2 separate regions of the Homo sapiens genome follow, and region 2 is linked to region 1. The links are contacts of gene promoters, found by promoter capture Hi-C in blood cells and fetal thymus (Javierre and others, 2016). All regions are on one chromosome and are shown on one strand. The core of a region is centred on a gene start or on the middle of the fragment in contact, and the rest is flanking DNA. Distances in the headings are between cores, read along the strand shown.

The links. Contacts are between HindIII fragments. The CHiCAGO score rates a contact against its expected background, and 5 or more counts as called.
Region 2: a fragment that was not itself captured here is called in contact with the fragment with the promoter of ARIH1 in region 1 in 1 of 17 cell types (naive CD8 T cells); the score reaches 5.2 in naive CD8 T cells.

Annotation. Positions count from the first base shown.
Region 1 is chr15:72,470,594-72,476,832 of GRCh38, reverse strand. ARIH1 (ariadne RBR E3 ubiquitin protein ligase 1) reads right to left here and starts at 2,503. Exons shown (of 14, transcript NM_005744.5): 1 at 1,819-2,503. The coding sequence starts at 2,193. TMEM202-AS1 (TMEM202 antisense RNA 1) reads left to right here and starts at 2,594. Exons shown (of 4, transcript NR_135678.1): 1 at 2,594-2,958. RefSeq lists enhancers at 1,380-1,589, 3,040-3,139 and silencers at 2,140-2,369, 2,412-2,608, 2,460-2,799. The HindIII fragment of the contact is 10,721 bases long and covers 828-6,239 here.
Region 2 is chr15:78,867,961-78,874,199 of GRCh38, reverse strand. MORF4L1 (mortality factor 4 like 1) reads right to left here and starts at 1,310. Exons shown (of 12, transcript NM_006791.4): 1 at 1,143-1,310. The coding sequence starts at 1,182. RefSeq lists enhancers at 459-698, 92-723 and silencers at 809-868, 1,279-1,538. The HindIII fragment of the contact is 1,335 bases long and covers 1,805-3,139 here.

The DNA of each region.
Region 1 (6,239 bases), core at 1,254-3,753:
ATACAGTATGGTTCCACTGTTATTAACGTGGAACCATATTAATGGCTATCCAAAGGTCTAGAAAAATAACTACAGTTCGCATTTTGTTGTACGTCTCTGGGTGGCAGGCTTGTTTTGTCTTTTTATTTTTTCTTACCTAATCAGATTTTTCTTACATGTGCATCTTCTACAGGCCGGGCACGGTGGCTGACGCCTGTAATCCAGCGCTTTGGGAGGCCGAGGCAGGCGGATCACAAGGTCAGGAGTTCGAAACCAGCCTGGCCAGCATGGTGAAACCCGTCTCTACTAAAAATACAAAAAATTAGCTGAGCATGGTGGAGCGCGCCTGTAGTACCAGCTACTTGGGAGGCCGAGGCAGGAGAATTGCATGAACCCGGCAGGCGGAGGTTGCAGTGAGCAGAGATTGCGCCATTGCACTCCAGCCTGGGCGACAAAGCAAGACTCCGTCTCAAACAAACAAAAAATTATCTTCTACAATCCTCAACTTCCTTCTTAGACTGTGTTCTCTAGATTAAAAATGAAGACTTCCACTATTTAGTAATGGCACTAGATATCAGAGATTTTTCTATTATGCAAAACACTGTATTGAAACAGTGCCTGAATAGATGCTTCAATTTTTAAAACTGTTACTTATAATACTATAAAAATCAGTTAATAATAGAAAGTCAACGAGTTGACAGTGACATACTTCTAATTTGTCAATGAATATTTAGCCAACCAATTTAAGTTAAACAAAAAAGAAATAATACTGATAAAAGAGGCAATAGTAACTTGCTGCTCATATATGTTTCCTTCCAGGTTTTCTAAAAATTGCACTGAATCAAGCTTCATTTTTATTCTTCAGCCATATCCCTGACTCCTCAGGAGAACTGAGGTTTTTTTTTTCCCCAAATGAAAACTTTTGAGTTTCTAAAGCTCAAAAATGCAAAATCTGACGCACATGGTTAAATGAGATGTGGTTATCAACTTACACCAAGCCTAACTTACCACAAAATAGAAAATATCAGAGAAAGGAGTTCACAAGCAGAAAACCTCTGCTTTCTAACTCACAATAGAGTCTTGTCCAATATTAGACAACACTGCGTTTTGTTGTTGTTTTAGCTACAAGGAAGGGTATGCAATATGCAGTAACTATTCCAACAGCTTCAAGCAAGTCATCTGCTACGACTAGAAAAAGTAGCAATTAGGTCCCAAACAGCAAAGACATAAAAAAGATGTAAGCAGAAGCCTCACCATCTGAAAAGAAGGCCCATCAGCACCTCTTCCGAGAAATACTTCCCTTCCCCCACCTTTAAGTAGGCACTTGAGACTGCCAAGATCCATTTCTTTATTAACTGGTGCCCACTTGGGGCAACTGTACACCAAGCTGCTCTTAGGCCTACTCTAATCCCTTCCAAAAGTGCTCAAATGAGGCTACGGCCGGGGTAAGTCCCGTCAGGGCCCAATTCTTCCTGACTCCTCTTCTCCACCCCACCTCCTCCGCCCCGCCCCAGTAGGCGATCGCCCGGCCAGAGAAAGGACACCCGGCCCAGGGACTGGCAGAAATTGCCCGCAAGAGAAGGCTTAGGCGACCGAAGGCCTCCGCCATAGCAGGACTTGGGAAGCACCGCCCCCAGCGCACCTCCCCACACCCGGCTAATCGGCGAACCTCTGCTTTCGACACCCTCTATCCCCAGCAGAGGCAGCGGAGAAGACAAGGCCGGGAGGCACCGGGCTAGGCTGCGCACCAGGCCCAGGCCTGTCCCTCGGGACCGCGCGTGCCGCCTGAATCCGCTCCCCCGTCGGGCCCGGTCCAGCTGGCGCGGCGGCCACCCTCACCTGGATGACCTCGTTGACCTCCCGGATACATTCCACCATGTGTTGTAGAATCTGCTCGGCCGTGAGCACCTCGTAGCGGTAATCCTCCTCCTGCTCATGCCCCGGCCCGCCACCACCACCGCCGCCGCCGCCGCCGCCGCCACCGCCGGGCCCCAGAGCGCTGCCGCCGCCACCGCCCGTCTCCCCGCACAGCAGTCCGTCCCGCTCCCCGCCGACGCCCAGCCCGGGCTCCACCAGCTCCACCTCGCCCAGATCCAGGGTATCATCGTCCGGCTCGTCGTCGTCTTCGTCCTCCTCCTCCTCGGCGCCGCTGTCCTCCTCACTGCACTCCTCGTCCTCGTCGAACTCGTAGTTGTAGCCCTCGTCCGAGTCCATGGCGCGACGCGCGGGGGCCCGGCGGACGCTGGCCGAGGCGGGGAGAGGGCGGGGACGCCGAGGCCCCGGCTCTCGCTCCGGCTCCGGCTGATGTCCGGACGCAGGCCTGGCTCCGGCCCCGCGAGCCGCGGCTCCTCCCCAGGAGCGGCGGTTGGCGTTTGACGGCTGGTGGCGGCGGGGAGGGCGCGGAGGAGGGAGGGAGGGAGCGAGGGGGCCGCTTGCTGCCCGCCTCAGTCAGACGCGGCTCCGCTCCGGCCTCCGAGAGAAAACAGTCCCCAACGCCACCTCCACGGCCGCTGCTATCGCTACTGAGCCAACAAAGGGGCGTGCGTCACCGCGTCGCGCTGCGTCGTCGCGTCACTCCTCTTTGCGTCACTGCGCCCCGCCCCACCGCCCCTGCGTGGAGCCCGGGGAGACCCCACGGCCCGGCCTTCCTGGGCCTGGGACCCGAGGGGAGCCGAGCGGGAATTGCTTTCCTGGTTCGATCCGCTGCCGCTGTGAGGGCCGAGCGGAAACCCGTAGACCTTTTATGTGAAGAGATTGCGGCCTCCTGGTCACCAGTCACCGAGAGAGGGACCCCTGGACCGCCTACGTGGTGGTGTCTGCCGCAGGCCATAGGGATCCAGCCCACTTAGGCAGTCCCTTGGGGACGCGGCCTTCCCTCCGGAGCGGAAAGGCGCTTCCCGCCCGCCCTGCGGTAATCCCGGAAGCCCTCAGCCGTTAAGCTAAAATTTCTGTTGCTTTGGCTACTGATGGAAACCTGTTGTAAGTGGAACCTCTAAACTGTATGACAGGTGAACCCACTTTAGGTAGCTGTGTGATTCTGTCCACTTGTACAGACGTGCAGTGGTTTTTAAGTCTCCTATAATGACGTCATTTTAAAGAGGCATTTCCTCCACCCCGCTGACAAGAGCGCCTCTTGAGGGCCCTAAACAATGTAAACAGCGATGATTTTCATGAATTGAGCACTGTGTAAGGGCTTTACATATATTCTGTCTCATCTTCACGGAGCCATAGTACCCATTTTATACCTGAGGAACCTGAAGCTCAGAAAGGAAAAGGGACCTGGCCAAGACCACATAACCCTTGCCCTATTTTAACCGCTGGATGCCCCAAAACATGAATCATAAAAATGCTTTGTAATGTAGATATATTATGTACTATGTAGTACATAAAAGACATGAATGCTTCAACAAAATACAGGCAATAATAGAAATATCTACAAGGGCCAAATGTAGCCAGAGAGATAATGCTTGAATCTCATCTGAAAGTGTGCTATGTGAGCTGAGTGTTGATGAATGGCTAGGAGTTCAACAGAGAAGGTAGGGAAGATGGTCTAGCCGCAGAGAACAAGCAAAAGCGCAGAAGGTGTCAAGTAAGTAATAGTTTGGGGAGCTTAAAGTGCATGGAGGGTACATGGCAAAATATTAGGCAAGTTAGTCAGGGGTCATGTCAGTTAAGAGCATTTTATGCCTAAGAGTGGGCTTAAATCTTTGCAAACAGGACATGCGAGCCAGAGAAGTGTTATGAAGGAAGAAGAGGCATAAGAAGGCTCCCTCTTGAGATAATCTGAAGAATTGGCCAGATTGAAAACCTTTTAAAATCAAAACCCCTGATTTGTTGATAAATCTTACTGTTCAACCTATAGGTTCCCTTTGGAAATTGATTTTGAAAAGTGAAAAATTCCATTATAATGTTAAAAAGCCTCTTCCAATTTGTCCATTTTGTAAGTTTTAAAATACCGATAATTATATTTCTTAACCTCAGGATTTACAAAGTAAAGCATTTAACCTCAATACTGGTAGTCTAGGTTTTTGTTGTTGTTGTTGTTGTTTGTTTTTTTCTTGAGACGGAGTCTCGCTCTGTTGCCCAGATTGGAGTACAGTGGTGATCTCAGCTCACTGCAGCCTCTGCCTCCCAGGTTCAAGCGATTCTCCTGTCTCAGCCTCCTGAGTAGCTGGGACTACAGGCGCATGCCACCACCCCAGGCTAATTTTTGTATTTTTAGTAGAGATGGGGTTTCACCATATTGGCCAGGCTGGTCTCGAATTCCTGACTTCAGGTGATCCACCTGCCTCGGCCTCCCAAAGTGCTGTGATAACAGGCATAAGCCACAGCGCCCAGCCAGGTCTAGGTTCTTTGATTCAGTGTTTCTATTTAGCAATTCTAGATTGCTGCCACAACTAAGGCAAGCCATGGACACAAGGAACACTTCTGTCCACCCCGTCTCCATTGTGATATTACCTACAGAAAAATTCAGTAACACTCGTCAGTACCCTAAACTCCTTTGCCTCACCTTTCTTTTCATTGTACCCCTATCTTGAATGAACCCTACCATCCATAGTCTCCACTTTGATAAATGGAGCAGCTGACCACTATTAGAGAAATGTGCATAGCCATCTGTATTCTATTACTACATTTCTTCTTTTTTTTTTTTTTTTTGGAGACACTCTTGCTCTGGCACCCAGGCTGGAATGCAGTGGTGCGATCACCACTGAAGGCTCAATGTCCCGGGCTCAAGTGATCCTCCCACTTCAGCCTCCTGAGTTGCTGGTACTACAGGTGCACACCACCATACCTGGCTAATTTTTTATTTTTTTTTACAGATACATCTCACTATGTTGCTCAGACTGGTCTGGAACTCCTGGCCTCAAGCAATCCTCCCACCTTGGCCTCCCAAAATGCTAGGATTACAGGTGTGAGCCACTACACCCAGCCTACTTAATTTCAATCACCAAGCACAACTCAACCTTCAATAATTCCCAGCAATCCTATTAAATTTTTCTGGATTGTTCTCCCACTCTCGACAACTCTTTCACACCTTTGCAGTTTCCTCAAACTTCAGCCCTGCCCTTTCACATCTTCTCAAAACATGTGACTTTTAGTCACAGAGGAATTTGAAAATATCAGGACCAATGTGACTTGAGACATGCTGAGCAAAGAAGAGGGTGTTAAGGGATAAAGTCAGAGAAAGCAGATCAAGGTAGGGGGCCAGTAGGGGCCTTGTAGGTCATCTTAAGAAGTTTACATTATTCCAGTGGCAATTATTAACGAGTTTTAAGCAGAAGAGTGAAACTATATGATCTGTGTTTTTAAAAAGATAACTGACTGCTTTATGGTGAATGGACTACGAAAACAAAGCAATTATGAGGCTATCTCAGTAGTCCAGGTAAGTAGATAATAGCCTGAACTAGGGTTGTGGCAGTGGAGGTGATAAGAAGTGGTCAGATTGAGATAGAATTTGAAAGAAGAGCCAAAATATTTGCTGGTGGCTTGACAGTGGGTTTGATGGAGGAAACAAGGATGCCTACTGTATTTGGAGCTTGAGCGACTGGGTGAATGGTGGCATCACTCACTGAAACATGTTATTTGAGGTGCTCGTTAGACATCAGGGTAGAGGTGTTGAGTAGGCAGTTCCATAAACTAAGATACAAGACTGAAGGTCAGGAAAAATTAGAGCTGGAGATACAATTTTACCAGAGTTTACACCAGCAATGTTTAGAAGCGGCATAGGATAAAGGTGAAGAGGATAAAAGTTATTGAAGCAGATGGATCTGAATTTGCCTATGCACCCCCCTGCCCCGTTGCTGTCTGTAACCTTAAGCAAATTACTAAGCCTCTCTTTTAGAGGTTTACTTTGGAGGATCATAATTCCTGTTCTCATAGGATTATTTGTGAGTATCAAATGAAATTATGTATTTAAAGCATTTGACACAGTACCTGGCACATAGCTAAGTACTCACAAAATCAGAGCTTTTAAAAAGTGTCATAAGTCACCTTTATAATCTTTTAATCAGTTTTGTTTATTTGTTTGTTTGTTTGTTTTGAGACGGAGTCTCACTCTGTCGCCCAGGCTGGAGCACAGTGGAGCAATTTCGGCTCACTGCAACCTCTGCCTCCCGGGTTCAGGCAATTCTCCTACCTCAACCTCCTGAGTAGCTGGGACTACAGGCACGCACCACCATGCCTGGCTAATTTTTGTATTTTTAGTAGAGACGGGTTTTACCATGTTGGCAGGCTGGTCTCGACCTCCTGACCTCATGATC
Region 2 (6,239 bases), core at 1,223-3,722, 6.4 Mb before region 1:
CATAGCAATGAAAAGGAATGTTAAAGTGTTCCTCCTTTCTCAACAGGACTTTACTTCCTTTTTAGCTATTAGACCTCCACCTTATTATACGTTAACTGAAGCGTTGTGAAAATTTAAAGAGCTGCCTTCCACTGGGAGTCAGTCTAACCTTACCCAAAACTCATGTCAATCGAAAACCAATTAATAAAAAGAAATTCAACTTTCAAGTCATTGTTAAACACTGCAACTAATCAAACAATTACTGCATTTAAAAAATGACGTCGAGGCAATGGGACTTACAAATGCAAACGGCGTCAACACTGCATTCAGATCATTTTTATTTACTTTTTACGAGCAACTGCAAAGCGAGAGCTCACTCACATTACCATAGGATCTCGGCACTGCGCCCAAGAATAGCAGAGTGATGCCTCCAGGCAACACAAAGCGGAGGAAAACGCTCATCTCACTTTTTTTTTTCTGTCCCCACCCACCACTCTGTGGTATGCGGAGGGCCCCGGCAACCTTCTGGTCGTCGTGGAAGGGGGCGCTGCATCTGCCCGTAAGCTGTGCCTCCATACGGGACCGAGACGCCGGCGGCCATGATGGCGCCGCCATCTTGCAACGGCCATTTTACAACGCACTTCTCCCGCCCCGTGGCGCCAAACCCACCCCCATCCGCAGCTGAGTTGCCACCGAACGCAACCACCCCGGGGCTCCAGGAAGCACCGAAAAACCCGTCGTAGCTGCCCAAGCGGCCGGGCGCGCCGCAGGACCGCCCGAAACAGCCACCGCCCCTCCCCCCCCGCCGCCACATCACTTCCCCTAACCGCCGCCATGGCGCTCCCGTCGCCTCCCTACAATAGGCTGCTCTCTCCGCGCCCTCTTCCTCAGAACAATAACAAACACTTGACGAGGGTGTGCCACGCGCCAAACGCTCTCTCTCCCACTCTAACGCCTGCGCAGCACTCTCGCTTCACAAAGCGCTTTCTCACAATGACGCACCGGAATTGCCATCCGCAATGCGCTTTCCCCGCACAAAGCACTGACCGCCGCCTTCTCAGGGCGCAGCCCGCGCCGCCCCCGGCCCTCAAGCCTCAATCACCTCGAGCCCGCCTCTATCTCCTGCGCCGTTAGGTGCCTTTTTCCCAAAGGCGCACACTCACCCTCCTGGAATTTAGGCTTCGGGTCCTGCTTCGGCGCCATTTATAAGTGATTCGCCGCCTCCTCCTTCTCCCACCACCCCCGACTACCGCCCCCTACTCTCTACCCCACCCAACTCCGCGTCAGACGCGCCGTCAGGCACTGCCAGCTCTACATCCTGGGCCGGATTTGCCAGCGCCCGCAGACCTCACAGCACCGCGACCCGCGCAGCCGCTGCTCCAGCCAACGACAGCCCGCCGCGCACGCGCCCCTGCGCCCGCGCCGCCCCAGGGCACGCCGGGACTGGTAGTTCGGAGTCGGTGGAGGCGCCCCCCCCCCCCCCCCGGGTGGGGGAGGGGCCGGCTACCCTACCCCACCCCACCCCCGCTTCTCTCTCCATGCCCCCGGCTGCTGCGGGTTGGTAAAGCGGGGATTTGATTTCGTGGGAGGTTAAGGCGGAGCTGGCGATGGGGGAGAGTGGGGGTGGTGAGCCACCAGTGATAATAGAATGGGAAAGGCCCAGTTGCGACGTCCCTTGGGCAAATAAGCCCCCGTTGATGTTGAAGTAGTCGGAGAGAATAGGGCTGGCTCGGAAACCTACATTCAATAGCATTCCGCTAGTTTTTGCATAGAAAGGCTTTAGGATCAGCAAGAGGGTGGGAACTGGGGTCCGCTTCTGGAAGCTTCGTTGTTTAGCAACCCCACTGCGGAGCCTATTTGGTGGGATTGATAGCCATTTGTTGGCTCCTAGGTCTACCTCCTCTTCTCCAGCCCAGCCTTGCGGAAATGAGGATGATGACGTGGGAAACACTAGTCACGCTTTAGCTTTTTGAGATAATGGAGCTCTGCTTTCTGAAAAAGGCTAGTGTGAATATGTCAACGTCTGTATTCCGTACCTGCCCTGTTTGTGCTTCTTGTCACTCTAAACAAACGGATTTCTTCAATATTATACCTTTTTTTTTTTTTCTGAGATGGAGTGTCGCTCCGTTGCCCAGACTGGAGTGCAGTGGCGCGATCTCTGCTTACTGCAGCCTTCGCCTCCCAGGTTCAATCGATTCTCCTGCCTCAGCCTCCGGAGTAGCTGGGATTACAGGCATGTGCCACCACGCCCAGCTAATTTTTGTATTTTTAGTAGATACTGGGTTTCACCATGTTGGCCAGGCTGGTCTGGAACTCCTGACCTCGTGATCCGCCCGGTTTGGCCTTCCAAAGTTCTGGGATTACAGGCGTGAGCCACCGTGCCTGGCCTAAACAAACGGATTTATGTCGTTCCCTGTTCAAAAACAACTTTGTTGGCTAAGCTGCAAAATAGCACCATTTCCGTCAGTTTATTGTGAGAATTACATATACGGGCTTAGCGCGGTACCCAACAATGAATAAGTGCTCAATGAACTTTAGACGATAAATCTCAAAGTCCTTAGCCTGGTATTTAAATCCTTCCACAAACAGCCCTTAGCCTACCTGCATCCCCTATGTAAACCTTTATCCTCCTACGCAAACCTTTGTCTCCATGACTTTTCTTTTTTTTTTTTTTCTTTCTGAGACGGAGTTTCCCTCTTATTAACCAGGCTGTAGTGCAAAGGCGCGATCTCAGCTCACTGCAACCTCTGCCTCCCAGGTTCAAGCGATTCTCCTGCCTCAGCCTCCCGAGTAGCTGGGATTACAGGCATGTGACACCACACCGGGCTAATTTTTGTGTTTTTGTAGAGATGGGGTTTCTTCATGTTAGTCAGGCTGGTCTTGAACTCCCGACCTTAGGTGACCCGCTGGCCTCGGCCTCCCAGAGTGCTGGGATTACAGGCGTGAGCCACTGCGCCCAGCCTGTCTCCATGGCTTTTCTAAGCCCTCCCCTGCCCGGGTTCCACACCCCACCAATTCCGGGCCCCTCTCCATTTATCTGACTTCCATTTCTCCTTCAGTCTTTTTAACACAACCCCTTCTCTGACAACAGAAACCCACAAAAACCTTCCTTATTCCAGTTGAATATACACCATCTTGTCACGACTACTTCTCGCAAGCTTGTCCAACCTGTCTTATTTTGTTGTTGTTTTGTTTTGTTTTGTTTAGGCTTTTAGCACCCTGAAGCCATGGTTTTTAGTTTCAGTCTCTAGTGATAAGTGGAAAAGGGGGATGAGGAAGGGGCTTTACTGGCCCAACCAGAAACAGAAACTAAGAACCCATGACTGTATTCACTCCCTTGGACACCATTGCTAAATTGTAAAAAGGGACAAGGGCTTCTTTGGACCCCACCCCACCAAAACTGTCCTGTACACTTTTAAATTTTTTATTGAATATAAAATACGTACTTTTTTTAAATTATTTTTTTGAGACAGTCTCGCTCCGTAGCCAGGCTGGAGTGCAGTGGCACAGTCTCAGCTCACTGCAACCTCTGCCTCTTGGGTTCAAGCGATTCCCCTGCCTCAGCCTCCTGAGTTGCTGGGACTCGGTGTGCCATCACGCCCAGCTACTTTTTTGTATCTTAGTGGAGATGGGGTTTCACCATGTTGGCCAGGATGGTCTCGATCTCCTGACCTTATGATCCTCCTGCCTTGGCCTACCAAAGTGCTGGGATTACAGGCATGAGCCACTGCGCCCAGCCAATTTTTTGTTGTTGTTGTTGTTATGAGACCAAGTCTCACTCTGTCACCCAGGCTAGAGTGCAGTGGTGCAGTCTCAGCTCACTGCAGCCTCCACCTCCTAGATTGAAGCGATTCTTCTGCCTCAGCCTCCCAAGTAGCTGGGTTTACAGGCGCATACCACTATGGCCGGCTAATTTTTGTATATTTAGTAGGGATGGGGTTTCACCATGTTGGCCAGGCTGTTCTCGAACTCCTGACCTCAGGTGATCCACCCGCCTCGGCCTCTCAAAGTGCTGGGATTACAGACGTGAGCCACTGCGCCCAGCCTGCACATACTTTTTTAATCCAAACGTTTAAAAATACAAAAATGAAAATAGTGGGCCGGGCGCGGTGGCTCACGCCTGTAATCCCAGCACTTTGGGAAGCCAAGGCAGGCGGATCACGAGGTCAGGAGATCAAGACCATCCTGGCTAACACGGTGAAACTCCATCTCTACTAAAAATATAAAAAATTAGCTGGGCGTGGTGGTGGGCGCCTGTAGTCCCAGCTACTCAGGAGGCTGAGGCAGGAGCATGGCATGAACCCAAGAGGCGGAGCTTGCAGTAAGCCGAGATTACGCCACTGCACTCCAGCCTGGGCGACAGAGTGAGGCTCCATCTCAAAAAAAAAAAAAAAAAGAAAATAGTGAAAGTCTCTTTCCCACCTCCACCCCTCATCTGCCCAGTTCCCCCACTGTTATGAGTTGTTTGGGAATCCATGAGTTTTTTTATCCTAGAACCCTCTTTGTGTTATTTCTTCTTTTGTATTGAAGTTAACTTATTTGCCTTTATGTGTTAATTACACAGGTAATATTCAAATATTTGGGCTCATGATGCAACAATTGAGAAATATAAAATACAGGGCAAAACTTAAGGAACATGTTTATTCCCCGCTCCCCCCATTTACCTTCCCACCATTTGGCGTGTGCATTTTTCTCCATTTTTTTTTTTTAACCATAAATGGTCTGTACATATTGTTCAGTTGCATTCTTTTTTTTTTTTTTTTTTGAGACGGAGTCTCGCTCTTTCGCCAGGCTGGAGTGCAGTGGTGAGATCTCGGCTCACTGCAACCTCCGCCTCCCGGATTCCAGCGATTCTCCTGCCTCAGCCTCCTAAGTAGCTGGGATTACAGACGCCCGCCACCATGCCCGGCTAAGTTTTGTATTTTTAGTAGAGACAGGGTTTCACCAAGTTGGCCAGGATGGTCTCGATCTCTTGACCTTGTGATCCGCCCGCCTCAACCTCCCAAAGTGCTGGGATTACAGGCGTGAGCCACCACGCCCGGCCCAGTTGTATTCTTTTTTAACATAATAATATATCTTGGAGATTGTTCAAATTACATACAGGCCTATCTCACCTTTTTTTTTTTTTTTTTTTTGAAACAGCGTCTTGTTCTGTCTCCCAGGCTGGAGCACAGTGGCATGATCATGGCTCACTGCAGCTTGCAGCTCCTGGGTTCAAGTGATCCTCCTGCCTCAGCCTCCCCAGTAGCTGGGACTACAGGTGGATGCCACCACACCCAACTAATACTTTTATTTTTGCAGAGATGTGCTCTCGCTATGTTGACTGGGCTGGTTTCCAACTCGTAGCCTCAAGTAATCCTTCCACCTCTGCCTCCCAAAGTGGTGGGATTACAAACATGAGTCCCTCACATTTTCAATAGCTTTCGACATACCATAGTATAAATATTTCAAGATTTATCTAATCTTTGTGCACATTGCTTTTTCTTTTCTTTTTTTTTTTTAAGAGACAGGGTCTCACTATGTTGTCCAGGGTAGCGTGTCAACACAGCCAGGCTATGTTGTCCTGGCTAGAGTGTCCAGCCTGGAATCCTAGGCTCAAGCAATCCTCACGCCTCAGCTTCCAGAGTAGCTGGGAATACAGATCACGCCACCATGCCTGCCTTCTGCACTTTGCTTTTATTTTTTCAGGACCCAAGAAGTAGAATTACTAGGTCAAAGAATGTGGGCATTTTAAATTGCCTTGTGAAAGGTTTCATCATTTTACATTTCAACTAGCAATTTAAGAAAAGGCTTGTTTTTCCACATTCTTGACAAACATGGCATCATGGAGTCTCTGAAAACTGGTGTTTGTTTTTTTTGAGATGGAGTCTCACCCTGTCGCCCAGGCTGGAGTGCAGTGGCACGATCTTGGCTCACCGCAACCTCCGCCACCCGGGTTCAAGCGATTCTCCTGCCTCAGCCTCCCAAGTAGCTGGGATTACAGGCACCTGCTACCATGCCCAGCTAATATTTGTAGTTTTAGTAGAGACAGGGTTTCACCATCTTGGCCAGGCTGGTCTTGAACTCATGACCTCATGATCCACCCGCCTCGGCCTCCCAAAGTGCTGGGATTACAGGCGTGAGCCACTGCGCCCAGCCTGTTTTTGTTTTGACGTGGAGCCTCGCTCTGTCACCCAGGCTGGAGTGTAATGGCATGATCTCGGCTCACTGCAAACTCCACCTCCCGGGTTCAAGCGATTCTGCTATCTCAGCCTCCCGAG